2 separate regions of the Homo sapiens genome follow, and region 1 is linked to region 2. Evidence: promoter capture Hi-C in 16 types of primary human blood cells and fetal thymus (Javierre and others, 2016). All regions are on one chromosome and are shown on one strand. The core of a region is centred on a gene start or on the middle of the fragment in contact, and the rest is flanking DNA. Distances in the headings are between cores, read along the strand shown.

What was found. Contacts are between HindIII fragments. The CHiCAGO score rates a contact against its expected background, and 5 or more counts as called.
Region 1: a fragment that was not itself captured here is called in contact with the fragment with the promoter of NIPBL in region 2 in 1 of 17 cell types (total CD8 T cells); the score reaches 6.8 in total CD8 T cells.

What each region holds. Positions count from the first base shown.
Region 1 is chr5:43,481,651-43,488,004 of GRCh38, reverse strand. It overlaps C5orf34-AS1 (C5orf34 antisense RNA 1), which reads right to left and starts at 4,086. Exons shown (of 3, transcript XR_007058763.1): 1 at 4,004-4,086. It overlaps TMEM267 (transmembrane protein 267), which reads left to right and starts at 4,140. Exons shown (of 3, transcript NM_022483.5): 1 at 4,140-4,183. It overlaps C5orf34 (chromosome 5 open reading frame 34), which reads left to right. Exons shown (of 13, transcript NM_198566.4): 12 at 56-96; 13 at 894-1,296. The coding sequence ends at 1,090. RefSeq lists enhancers at 3,811-4,000, 3,266-4,109 and a silencer at 4,055-4,285. The HindIII fragment of the contact is 1,744 bases long and covers 1,997-3,740 here.
Region 2 is chr5:36,872,211-36,878,521 of GRCh38, reverse strand. NIPBL (NIPBL cohesin loading factor) reads right to left here and starts at 1,753. Exons shown (of 47, transcript NM_133433.4): 1 at 1,344-1,753. It overlaps NIPBL-DT (NIPBL divergent transcript), which reads left to right and starts at 1,828. Exons shown (of 1, transcript NR_046262.1): 1 at 1,828-6,311. RefSeq lists silencers at 1,128-1,247, 1,888-1,997 and an enhancer at 2,408-2,457. The HindIII fragment of the contact is 9,072 bases long and covers 1-5,735 here.

The DNA.
Region 1 (6,354 bases), core at 1,619-4,118, 6.6 Mb before region 2:
CATGAATACAAAAGAATCAGACAACTGAATGAATTTTTTCTTTTTCCTTGGACAGGTCTGTTGCTTCTGAACTTGAAAAGATACAGAAGTTTAACTGTATCCTTTAAACAGAATGCACTGTCCTACATAATTACTCTCTTTCATTCTAGGCTTAATTCATGACTTCAGTACTTTGTGAATATTAATCTATACTTAATATATTGCTAACCTTTATTGAGTCAGCAAATACCTAAGATTGTAATTTAAGATGGATCTTGTCCATAGAAGGTATAGCATGTTAACATTTATACTTTTCTTTGAGTTTAAATTGGGCAAAGAACAGTTAATTAGGGTTAAGGTCTCCTTTGGAGACTTTTTCACTTACATAATTATATAATAAAATTATAACTGTTTAAGACCTCTTTTTTTAAATGAAATATTTCATTCTGTACATTCTCACCCAATTCATCTAAATTTGTTTTCTCTTGTGGTTTTTCTCTAATCTTATTCAAATAAGTTAGTTCTATAGCGAACAGGTTTTTCACTCTAAATCTTTTTAAATTAAAAATAGACACTACACAGATTCCTTATAATCCTGTCATCCTACTCTTTAATTCCCGTGTCATTTCTTCACTTAAAGAAATGTTACTGAAATTTTCATTTCCTCCTTACCACCAAACCTCCACCCAAACACACACATACACACTCTATTCTCTTTCCCCCTCCCTTATACTGTAATTAGTTTCTTCATCTACAAGGAGCAGACTTGATAAGCCTTGCAGTTCCAACTGTATTATGAATCCAAGAGGTCTTCCAGCTGAGAAATATTTTAATATGAAGCCTATGCTTTCTGTATATAAAGATATTTATATAGTGAAAAATGTGGGGAAAACCTCCTTAACTAAGCAACTTAGTGCTACTAGAAAATAGTGGTATCCTAAACCAGATTTCTAACAAGAAAAATGAACAACAGTCTTTTGATCATTATAAACCAGGATCTTCAGAAACCTTGCTAGGAGAAGTTAATGAAAATAGAGTATCAATAGCATTGAAAAAAACCTCTGAAATCCTTCACGATATTGACTGTCTTCTATCAAACTCTAAAAAGTGAAAAATGGAATTATTACAACATATTATTAAAGTTTAAGGATGTTGTTTCAAGTGACTGGTATAAAATTACTAGTAAGCCAAGATATTGTACGTATTACCCCGGCACAATGATTGTGAAAGAACTGACATTTAACTTTGAAGGTATTTTTAACTTGTACATTTTTAAAATATGTATTTATATCTTAATAATAAATATTTCGAAGTTTTGAACGTTTCACATTTAATTCTTATTTCAGATTAACAAGAAAAAAAATTTGTAACATTATAAAGTTGTTGCTGTTTTTATCTTGTGGAGCATTCACTATTAATCTTCAGGTTTTTTCATTTTGTTTGTTTTTACTGTTTGAGATACGGTCTTGCTTTGTCACCCAGGCTGCAATGCAGTGGTGCAATCATAGCTCACTGCAGCCTTGAACTTGTGGGCTCAAGGGATCTTCCCACCTCAGCCTTCTGAGTAGCTGGAACCACAGACATGTACCACCATGCCTGGCTAATTTTTAAAAATTTTTTTTGTAGAGACAGGAATCTCCCTATCTTGCCCAGGCTGGTCTTGAACTCCTGGCTTCAAGCTATCCTCCTGCCTCCGTTTCCCAAAATGCTGGAATTACAGGTGTGAGCCACTGCACCCAGCCTCTTTTTTTTTAATATGCAGAATTGTGCATTTGTTCACTTGCTATTTGGTCCCTTTACTCCAAGTATTTTTCAGTAGAGCTATGAGACAAGAACTACATCTCAAAAACAAAAACGGAGACAAGCAACATTGTAAACTAAAAATCAGGCACTTTGGCAAAGACTGTATCTAAACTGTCTCATGAACCAGATACTTTCTTTTGAACACAGGAAAAGATTTATGCTGCAAAGTGTTTAACAGAAATGAGCTCACCAAAAGTGCTATTTATTATAAGCTTGTCTATTAAGAAAGAACAAAACCAAATATCTATAATGACGTCAAGATTACACCAAACACAACCAGAAATGTTCTAATTTTCTGATTTCTATAAAAGACCTGGCTCTTCAAATAAACGGGAAGCAGTAACAGAGAAAACGAGAAAAATGGGGAGAAGAGTGTAGATCAGGAATGATAATGTCACTAAGTTAAAGGGGCACAATGCCTTTTTTTTTTTTTAGTTCCTCTGACACTGGATTCCTTCACATTTCAATTCTCAAACAAGTACCATTTCCTCAAAAGGGCCTTCCTTACTACCTGACTAAAGTTAGCATCTCCCAAGTCTATTACATCACCCTATTTACTTCCTTTATAGTACTTATTACAATCTGTCTAGCTTGTTTCCTTGTGGCTCACACCCTCCACTAGAACTTGAGCTCCATAGTCATTCTGTAGCACACTGAGAGCACTCTGTTTGTATAAATGAATCAGTAAGCTGGGCACAGTGGCTCACGCCTGTAATCCCAACACTTTGAGAAGCCAAGGAGGGGGGAACACTTGAGCCCAGGACTTTAACACCAGCCTGGGCAACATAGCGAGATGCCCATCTCTACAAAAAACTTAATTACCTGCACGATGGCATGTGCCTGTGGTCCCAGCTACTCCAGAGGCTGAGGCCGGAGAATCCCTTGAGCCCAGGAGGTCAAGGCTGCAGTGAGCTATGATTGCACCACTGCACTCCAGCCTGGGTGACAGAGGGAGACCCTGTCTCAAAAAAAAAAAAAAAAAAAAAAGGAATAAACATCTACAGGCAGTAGACCGACTACAGAGAAAAGAACTACTATTACATTGTTTGGGTTTGCATGAAGCCATCTATGTTGTTCCTCAATAGCTCCATAAAGCCTAGATTATAAGACTTTGTACCACACTGCCAAAAGGGTAATGCCAAATTATTACTGCATTCAGAAGGAGAAAATTTGTCCTTAACATGGCTAAAAGCACTCAAAATTATAAATACATTTGCTGAAAGATACTTTAAATTCTCATTTAAGGTGTGTGGGAGTTAAAAGGTGTTTAATTTTCCCTGTCAGTTGGGTGTTTTACATTGGCTAAGAACCAAGACTGTGACAAGAAATGAGTTCTATGATTGAGAAACTCTAAGATTCTGGGGGTGGCCTAGGAGTTTACTTTGAGATTGAAATTTATTTTCTATGGTCAACTGTATAATTACGATGATACCACCCCTTGCTTTCCATCTGACACTTGGTTTGAGAAACTGTAGGTAGGAAAGGGAAAGAAGAATGTCCCTCCTTGGGCCTCTTCTTTTGGGCCTGTGCTTCCTAGAGTCAAATGTCAAGCTGGTATTTCCTTGGTGCTAAGAGCAACCACCACTCTGAGGCAGAGACGGGATGGGACCTAGCCAAAGTCCCAGTAAACAAACTGTATCTTGTAAGCGCAATTTAATTAGGGTCAAACTATTCTGTATGGACTTGCTTTTTCGACTTCTGAGGATTTAGTAGTCATGATTAAGTGCTGTCACGCTACTGCGATCTACAAACAGTAGCTCCACAACATCCGCCCGCATCGTGGCAAAGAATTATCAAGAAATCCCCAAGGGGGCGGTGAGGAGCCGCCGGTCGGCCAGGTCGCCCGGTCCCTCAGTCTGGTGAAAAGCTCCGTTGCCCACCCTGAGGGCTTCGCGGAAGGAAGTTGGCCGTATCGCTGCACCTTAGAGATGCGACGGCCGAGGCTCCCAGCTCAAGCTTCTGGTAGTAAGGCCTGTGTGCCTGGCATTCGGGGAGGCCACTTTTCTATCCCCAGCTTCCGGGCCACCACTTGGGTGCGTCGTGGGGATGTCGGCAGCTACGTTTGCGGCACAGCTCCGGCTAAACTGAAAAACGAATCCTCAGGTTTGACAAAACTAAACTAAAAAGACACTTTTCTCCTCTCACTCTGACGTCCCAAAAGTTTCCTTTTTAGGGGTCGGGGCCTACGGTGGGCGAGGAGAAACTCGAGGTATCTACCCACCGCACCAAACAACTCATGCGTCGCTTCCTTTCGACTTGGAGCTGGCCAGTATCCCGGCGTCCTCTCGGCCGACGCTGCGGTCTGAGGCCACTCTGGCCGGCAGCCGACGTCTCTATGGCTCCGACCGAGGGGCGGAGCCGCTGCTCGAGCTGCTGCTGGATTGAACTCAGAGAAGCCGGGGTGGGTATGGCTGAGCCGCTGCGTGGGACTGAGGGGAGGGGGCCGGGTGGACGCCGCGGAACTGCGTCCTGAGGTGGGAGACCGGAGGTGGGGGACCACTGAGTCTGATGTCTGGAGGGTCCGGTTGCGGGTCGGAGGGCGTGCTGGAACAGCCGCCACGCGGGAGCCAGGAGCCTCCTGGGTGCGTGTGACCCACGAGCCGGCACCGTCCCGCGGCCCTGGGGTCTGCGAGGAGCCCTGGCGCCGCCCTCCGGCTTCGCGCTTTTTCTAGATCCCTAGAACCCCAGCCCTCCGCCTACGCTCCGCGCCCCTGGCCTTTTTCTGGCCCAGGGTGGGGTTCCGGGAGTCGTGCCGAAGGAGCCCATTGCCGTCCTTAACCGGTTGTAAGAGCCTTTCGTGCCCCGGAGCCTTTGAGGCTTGAATGCTGAGAGTGTGACATGGTCCTTTCCCTGCAGCCTGGCCCATTTTTTTAAATGACATTTGAAAAATTATTGCATCACACCAGACTCAGAAAAGGATGTCTGGGAACTTCTGAGGCTTGAAACATGTTGAAATACAGAATTTTGTTTTATTCGTAATGGGCATAGGAACTAAACATTTTAAGTGCAGACATCTGATGGCTATAAAAAGTTTCAGTGAAAGTAAGCAAGATTTGTGTTTCCTTTGTCAGTTAGTTGCATCAGATTTGGCATCTGCTTTTGATATTTTTCCATTAAAGAAATTAAATATATTAAGTTTACAGCAACTACAGTTCAGTGAAGAAGACTTACTGGTAAAGCATAATAAAGGCGGTTTCTGGAATTTGGACCGTGTTTTGACCTTGGGTTTTTGCATATAATGTGTAAGGTTGGTGGGGAAGAGGGAAAGTTAAAACAGATGACACTTACTTAGAGAATGTATCAGCTCTTATTTGTTTTGACAGAAATAATGTCTAAGAGATTATTAGCAAACAATACATGATAGCGTATAATTAAAGTGACCAGCTAATTATATGTTTGTGGAATTCAGGAAGGAGAAAAGTACTGTTATGTATACTCTGAAGGCCCCAAAGTTAGTGGTATTTGCTATAAGGGGGATGGGGTGTGACAAAGTTTGGCCATTGCAGAAAATGGCTTCTGCGAGTCATAGGGAGGAATTTATAATATGTCAGTTATGTCAGAGAAGCTATCCCAAACAGTATCTTTAGTTCATAGGCTGCGGATTTATTATGTGATTATCTCTTGTATTAGTAAAATGGAATATTTATTAAATACCTTGAGCACACTGGATTTTTAAACATGACAAGTTTAAAAGAGATCACTACTCTTAAGGAACCTTATCAACAAAAGTGAATATGTAAAAGGAGGTTCGGGAGTCCGTTTTATTTGTAGGGGGAGGAATAGGAAGTGGAAAAGGAAATAAAAAGTTTAAGAAGAAAAATGGGTACCCTTAGGTGTATTATTCAGAGACAATAAGTAATACAGGAAGAACACTTAGTAAATTTCTCTTTTTCTAATACTCAGACTCTGAGCCAGATGTTAAATATCTGCACCAAAAGTTGGAGTAGAATAGATGCCAGAAATGTGGGGTTCTGGAACTGCAATTATACCTTCCTTAAAAATAGAAATAGTTCTCTTCTACGTATCTATTGTGTAATAAATTACACCAAAACTTAGAGGCTTAAAACAGTAGACAGTAGGGGCCAGGCGCCGTGGCTCACGCCCGTAATCCCAGCACTTTGGGAGGCCGAGGCGGGCGGATCACGAGATCAGGAGATCGAGACCATCCTGGCTAACACGGGTGAAACCCCGTCTCTGCTAAAAATACAAGAAATTAGCCGGGCGTGGTGGCGGGCGCCTGTAGTCCCAGCTATTCGGGAGGCTGAGGCAGGAGAATGGCGTGAACCCGGGAGGGGGAGCTTGCAGTGAGCCGAGATCATGCCACTGCACTCCAGCCTGGGTGACAGAGCGAGGAACCATCTCACACAAAACACAAACAAACAAAAAACAGTAGACAATAATTTTATTCTTTCTGTGGGGTCAAGACTTAGCTGGCGGTTCTGGCCCAGGGTCTCATGAAGTTGCAGTCAGGATGTCGGCAGTGGCTGCGGACATCTGAAGGGTTGACTGGGGCTGAAGGATCTGCTTCCAAGTTCACTGTGAGCTTTTTCCTTCCTCTTTCATCAGCAAGCT
Region 2 (6,311 bases), core at 504-3,003:
CTTCAGCGAATATGAAACAAAATATCAAAACGTGTAACCCAGGTACACTTTTCTAGCAATTTGCCTGACTGAGGAATTTTAAATTGGTGTTTCCCCCTTATACCAACCTACATTATGAACGCCTCCATAAACAAGCTCGAAACACTTAACTTACTCATGAACTAGAACTTGTCAAGTTAGAACTGATATTTTTCTCCAGCATTTACAGATACATTTAACCTATTAAAATGACACCTCTCTCATTACACAGTCAAACATCATGGCACAAACAGCCAATGACAATCCTGGGACCTCAAGAAGAACTGCCCTGACATAAAAGGATGGCACCTTCTACAATTTTTTAACCTCCCAAGGATTTTAAGTATAACTTAATTTCTTTTTTGGAAAAAGAAAAGAAAAGTGGTTTTACCCGTATCTCAGCACAATTCTCAGAACACTTAAAATTCTTTGTATGCTCCTACACGTTTTGGTCAGGAAGTACCTGAGTGTTTTACGTATAGTCGCTTAAAACTGCCCTTACATAACGCATACAAATAGAAAGTGGCAGAGTAAACCTGTCAAGTACTTTATACTTGTCTTTGAATAAAAAGTCCATGTGCAACAACACACTGTCAAAACAACAAGATAAAAGCTCTTGGGGAGGGGGAGATGTGCAGTGTCTACCACAGTATGTTTTTCTGTATTAAATATTCATGTGGACGATTTAATTCTTTAAAAAAGAAAATGAGTCTTTATGAACTTTCCAACGTCCAAACAAGTTTTAGAAAGAGAAAGAATTACCACTGGATCCGCGTCTGAGTATTTACGTTTGTCTCACTAACTGAAACTACTTCCTCCCTTCATGGGGTCACAGGGGGAAGAAGGGAGGTTGTTTGTTTCACTGGGACGTTCCCCACTCCCGGACCGGGAAAGTTGTAAATATGGGGACGATCAGGGCACATTTGCTGTTAGTTGTATTGTTTCCGCCTCCCCACTAGCTACGGCTCCACTCCCGGGCGAGGCCTGTCACCGACCAGCAGTCGCTCCGCTCAGCCCGGAGCTCTCCTAATCCCCGAGCTCAAGTAGATTCCGCTGGCCCGCGGCCTGCACTCTCCGCCGGGCCTACGCCTCCCCGGCCGCCCAGCAGGAGCCCAGTCCCCGCCACCGGAGCCGGCCGGGAGAGGGTACAAAACCACCGCTACCCAAGGCGGCTGCCACCAGAGAGGAGCGAACTCTAGACTCGCCTGTGGAAGAGACCTGGGGCCGCTAAGGAAACGGCGGGGAGGGGAGCGAGGAGGAGAGACGCTGAGGACCTGGCGCCGGCGCCGCCGCCGCCGCCGCCGAAATAAAGAGCAGGAATTTACCTGGGCGAATCGGCGTCTGAATCCAAGGGGAGGCCGAGGCCGCTGTGGCGAGAGACTATAATCCGGGCCGGGAGGGGGGGTGGCTACGGCTCCTCTTCCGTCTCCTCAGTGCGGGGAACATGTAGAGCCGGGGGGAGACCAGCCGAGAAGACAAATCGTTGCTTCTTCTTCCTCCTCCTCCTCCTTCTCCCACATAGAAACACTCACAAACACCCGACCACGGGCCCGAGCTACCGGGGGGGCATCGCCGCGGGCCCGGGAACCAATTCTCCTGTCGGCGGGGGCGTCCCTCCCTGCGGCTTGGTGGTGTCGGGTGAGTCGGTACCGACGGAGGGAGGGGGGGGAGGGCGGGGGGAAGGAGCCCTGTGTGTGTCTCTCTCTCGTTCCGTCTCTCCCTCTCAGAACAAAATGCCGACCGGAAGTGCAGCTGCAGGAATGACTCCCTCCGCCGGCGCCAAACACTAACAACCACCCCCTCTTCCCCACTCCACTTCCGCCACCGCCGCAGCCGCCGCTGCCGCCACTTGGGCTCGCGTCCTCGGCCGCGCCGCGCGGCACCCGGGCCCAGCAGCCGGGAGGCGGCAGCTCTCCTCTACGCCCGTCCCCTCAGGGCGGCTGTGGATGTTGCCAGTATTGTCGATGCTTCAGAGCGACGTTTGCCCTGCGACACAGGCGGGCCGGCTCTCCTCTGTCTTTATTTTCCTGGAGGCCGACAGGAGCGGGGCCCGAGTTCGGTGGTGGTCGTGAGCGTGGGGGGCACTCAGGCCCGGACGGGCTCTCAGGTCGCCGACGGCGGCGGCTGGAGGCCGCGCTGGCTGTCCCAGGTCGTCGTTAGCTTTAGGGAGCCGATCTCCGGGCGGCCCCACAGAGGACGCCCGCGATTCGATGGCGATGATGCCCGTTTTAAATGGTGTCCCTGCAGCCGGGTGGATGGATGGATCGTACACCTTGCCTTTTGAGAGCCGGGACCTTACGCCCGACTGCGTGTTATTTCTGCGAATAAGAACGCAACCTTTGGAGGTGAAGACGACTGTCGGCTGGATTGAATTGGAATCGTGTTTGTGATGATGCGTTTATTTCTGGAAATACGCGGTCTCCGCTGCTTTTGCTTTTTGTCGGCAGAGGTTTGGGTTCTTCTCTAACGGTCAGGATAAAGGCCTGTAGGCGACGCTGCGCGAGCGAGAAGCTCGCCCGCGGCTGCCCGGGCGCCCCCCTCTAGGTGTGGGTGGAGCCGAGCGCGCGGGGAGAACCGCCGGCCCCGACTCAGCCACCGGTGACTGCGGGCGACCCGCGGGCCTGCGGCCAGCTGATTTCAAACATCGTTTTCCTCTTTAGGTTCGGAAAACTGAGGCGCTGGACAAGGCTGGAATACAATATGTGATTATACGTACAGTACTATGGTTGTTGTAGTTTTTAAATTGTAAAACAAGAAGTAACCATTGTTCCACCGTTCTCTATTAAGTTTGTGTAAATTAAAAAGGGGCTATTTTCGGTAAAAAGTGCAGTAGGTAAGCGGAATTTTACTCAACCGGGACGAAATTCGTGTTATATGAATTGTATTGTGTATTTGTGTGTGTACCAGTGCGCTAAAAGTAAGTAGGAAAACTTGCTTAGATTATTCCTTTTGCCTCAGGCCACTCAGGGGGCCAAGATCCTGTCACTCCTTTTCTCTAGGCCCTGCGAATGGCTTCCCGTCTTGAGGGGAGTGAGCCAAAGCCTTGACTGCGGCAGAAGTCCCCGCGCGCCGTTGAGGGTGGGGGCGGGCCTGCCCTGGCATCCTTGCGAGTAGGACTCTTCCCTGAGCGTCGTCCACAGGGCTTGCTCCTTCACCTTCAGGATTTTGCTCGTGTCACTCGGTGCTTCCGCGGCTACTTTTAAACTGAAAGTTCCCTAGCCCCCTTCTCATTTTATCCTTTGGACAGTCTACATATCCATACTTGTTTATCTTCTTATCTCTCCTTCCCCAGTGCAATGTAAGCTCTAAGAGGACAAGAGGTTGTGTTTTTCTGCACTGGTGTTACGGCCCCCGCCTAGAATGCCACACAGTAGATGCGTAGTATGTGGTTAAGGAATGAATGCGATTATAAGGGCCTTGATGCTCCCCCATTTCTGTCTTTAATATGTACTTATATGCTACAGAGAGCTTTATAAAAGATTTAAAACACGTTTATTACAGAATTCTATAAAAATATATTGCTTCTAAACATTGGAAAGCCCTCCACAACACCAGAAACCCACAAATGAGGGATAAAATTTGTTTTTAGGCTTCTGTAAATGAGCATGCCCGAGGACAGTGCATCAAATGATCATATCCATACTGGGCCGATTATGTTTGCTCTTCTGAGTCTCAAACTGCATTCTTCATCTTGTCGTCCTCTGTCTTTCAAAATACATTAAAAGTGAGAATTTGGTTGGCTCAGAGCAAATCCAGCACTATTGGAAAAGTTCATTCAGCAAGTATTTATTGGGCACAAATGGGTACCAGGCACGCTAATTCAAAAGGTGTGTGTTTCTGAGGCTAGAAGGCCTTACATAAAGGACCACATGTGGCTACTTTGGTTGCTACTCAATTATGCTGTCAAGCAAAGCAAATGCTAGTGAAATTTATTTTTAGTTTTCTTCTGAAGAAAAGGTTCAATGAAAGCTGAGGTCAGGCTTGGTGTGGATATTTTAATTCACCATTTAGTTTGCTGTTTGCTTACACTTAGGTTAGCATTAGATATACTTAATCATGATTTTTGAGTACTATAAAACGTGAGAAATCTTATTTCCTAGTGGCTGGAAAAACAGGCTTTTTAAATTAAAATAAGTAAATATATCAGTAAGCTAGAAGCTATGCAATAAGGCTTTGGCTATGGTATTACAAATTTTCATATTTCATGTATTGAATTTTTGGACAAGAAAAGACAGCCTTGATAGGTATTTTATAACCATTAATACAATTAATCAAACATTGTTTAGTAAATCCAATCGTCTATTCATTATTATTTTTCCCATTAATCTTCAGAACAGCTTTAAGTTAATACAGATGACTCAGAATGTGTTTTTCACTCAGTTTCAAAATACCATTATTTCAATTCGCTAATAGAAGCACAATTATCTTCTTGTCTGCTTTCTTAAATGTTACTGGTAAACTAGTAATTTTGCATGTCCAGGTAACTGCAGCTGCTACAGTCAATCTGCTTTGGAAAGTCTTGGCATTATTGTGTCATTTAATTTAAAATTTTTAAGTTTTTTTAGTTTCTTCCCTTATTGAGGACTTATTAGGCGCTAATTAGCTTTATGCTAGACATCTCATGCATGGCAGTGAATGAAAACAACACTGCCTTTGAGGGTTTTAACTTGTATATAGTTTATACCATTTTTTTTCCAGGTTATAGAATCAAAGAAATTGTTTCAATTCATATCACAGTATTTCTCTATTAAATCAAATGGTATTTTGCTTGCATAAATTTAAGTATCCAAGTTGAGATCTTACATAGAATCTGTTAATCTAATATTAGTGTTTTCTTCATTTCATTGTCTTGGGTTTTTTTTTCTTAATAATTATTTTTCCCAATACCATCCATTTGTTTTGCTCTTACATTTTTAAGTCTTTTATGTTCCAAATCAGGTGACTTACATCCTCCACTTGTCCATTGAGGATAGCCCAGTAAACCTTTATTCTGACTTTAAATTGCCTCCTTGCTTCAAGAACTGAGTTGCATGACTCAGTTTTCTTTGCTAGAAATATCCCTGGATAGTCTCGTATGTATTCTTGATCAATGAATTGCAGAAGATTTGATTAAAAATTTTAAATGGATTTCAGGGATAAACTATTTGTATCAAATGTCATCACCAGGAATTTCTACAACTGAAAAATTTGAATTGTTATTTTTATTGAAGAATATTTATCTTTAAGATAAATGCAACTTGCTATAAAATGATAGAAATGAAAAATTTTAGAAAATCATTTTCTACTCACTATTTTATGCCTGCCAGTTATCCTTTGTTAGTGATAAAATTGTCTTTTATGGGAACGAATTTGTTAAAGGTAGAAAAAAAACTGGTAGTGTATGTATGTTTTATAGATTAGACACTACCAAAATTATTTAACATTTAGAATAATTAACTTGCTTTCAGGATGACAGATGACTTAAGAAACTGATGAAGGGTTAATTAAGGATATTGATTTTTAGGGCAGAACTACAAAATTATCAAATCACTTAACACTGTAAATATGTTCCTGTTTCAGGTTTTCAAAGTAAATACCTTAATCAAATTTGGAAATAGTATTTATGGATTTTATTCAACATAGATTATCTATTTTGTTAAAATTATAGAAATGAACAGTTCTTTTCCCATGGATGCCTTTTTTCATCTTGGCCTATTCTGATCCTTTAAGAACAAGCTTTGTCCTTTCATTAATACTTCTCACCTATAATTACGAATTTTCTCTAAACTTGTAGATTTTATTATCCATGCCATCTATTTATAATCCTATGACACTCCTATATTGTTTATGGTTTTTTTGTTTTTTTTTGTTTTTTTTTTTAGACGAAGTCTTGCTCTGTCACCCAGGCTGGAGTGCAGTGGTGCAATCTCGGCTCACTGCAAGCTCCGCCTCCCGGTTCACGCCATGCTTCTGCCTCAGCCTCCCCAGTACCTGGGACTACAGGCGCCCACCACCACGCCCGGCTAATTTTTTGTACTTTTAGTAGAGATGGGGTTTCACCGTGTTAGCCAGGATGGTCTCCATCTCCTGACCTCGTGATCCCCCGGCCTCGGCCTCCCAAAGTGTTGGGATTACAGGCGTGAGCCACTGTGCCTGGCCTTACTGTTTATGTTTTCATGCATCTATACCTTATGTTACTAAATCAAAGTGACCAGTTCCACATTATACTACAAGTTTCACTGTGTAATGCATAAGAATTACACAGAGGGAAGGGCCTCAAAAAATGCACTTCTGAAGTATTTTAATGTAAAATT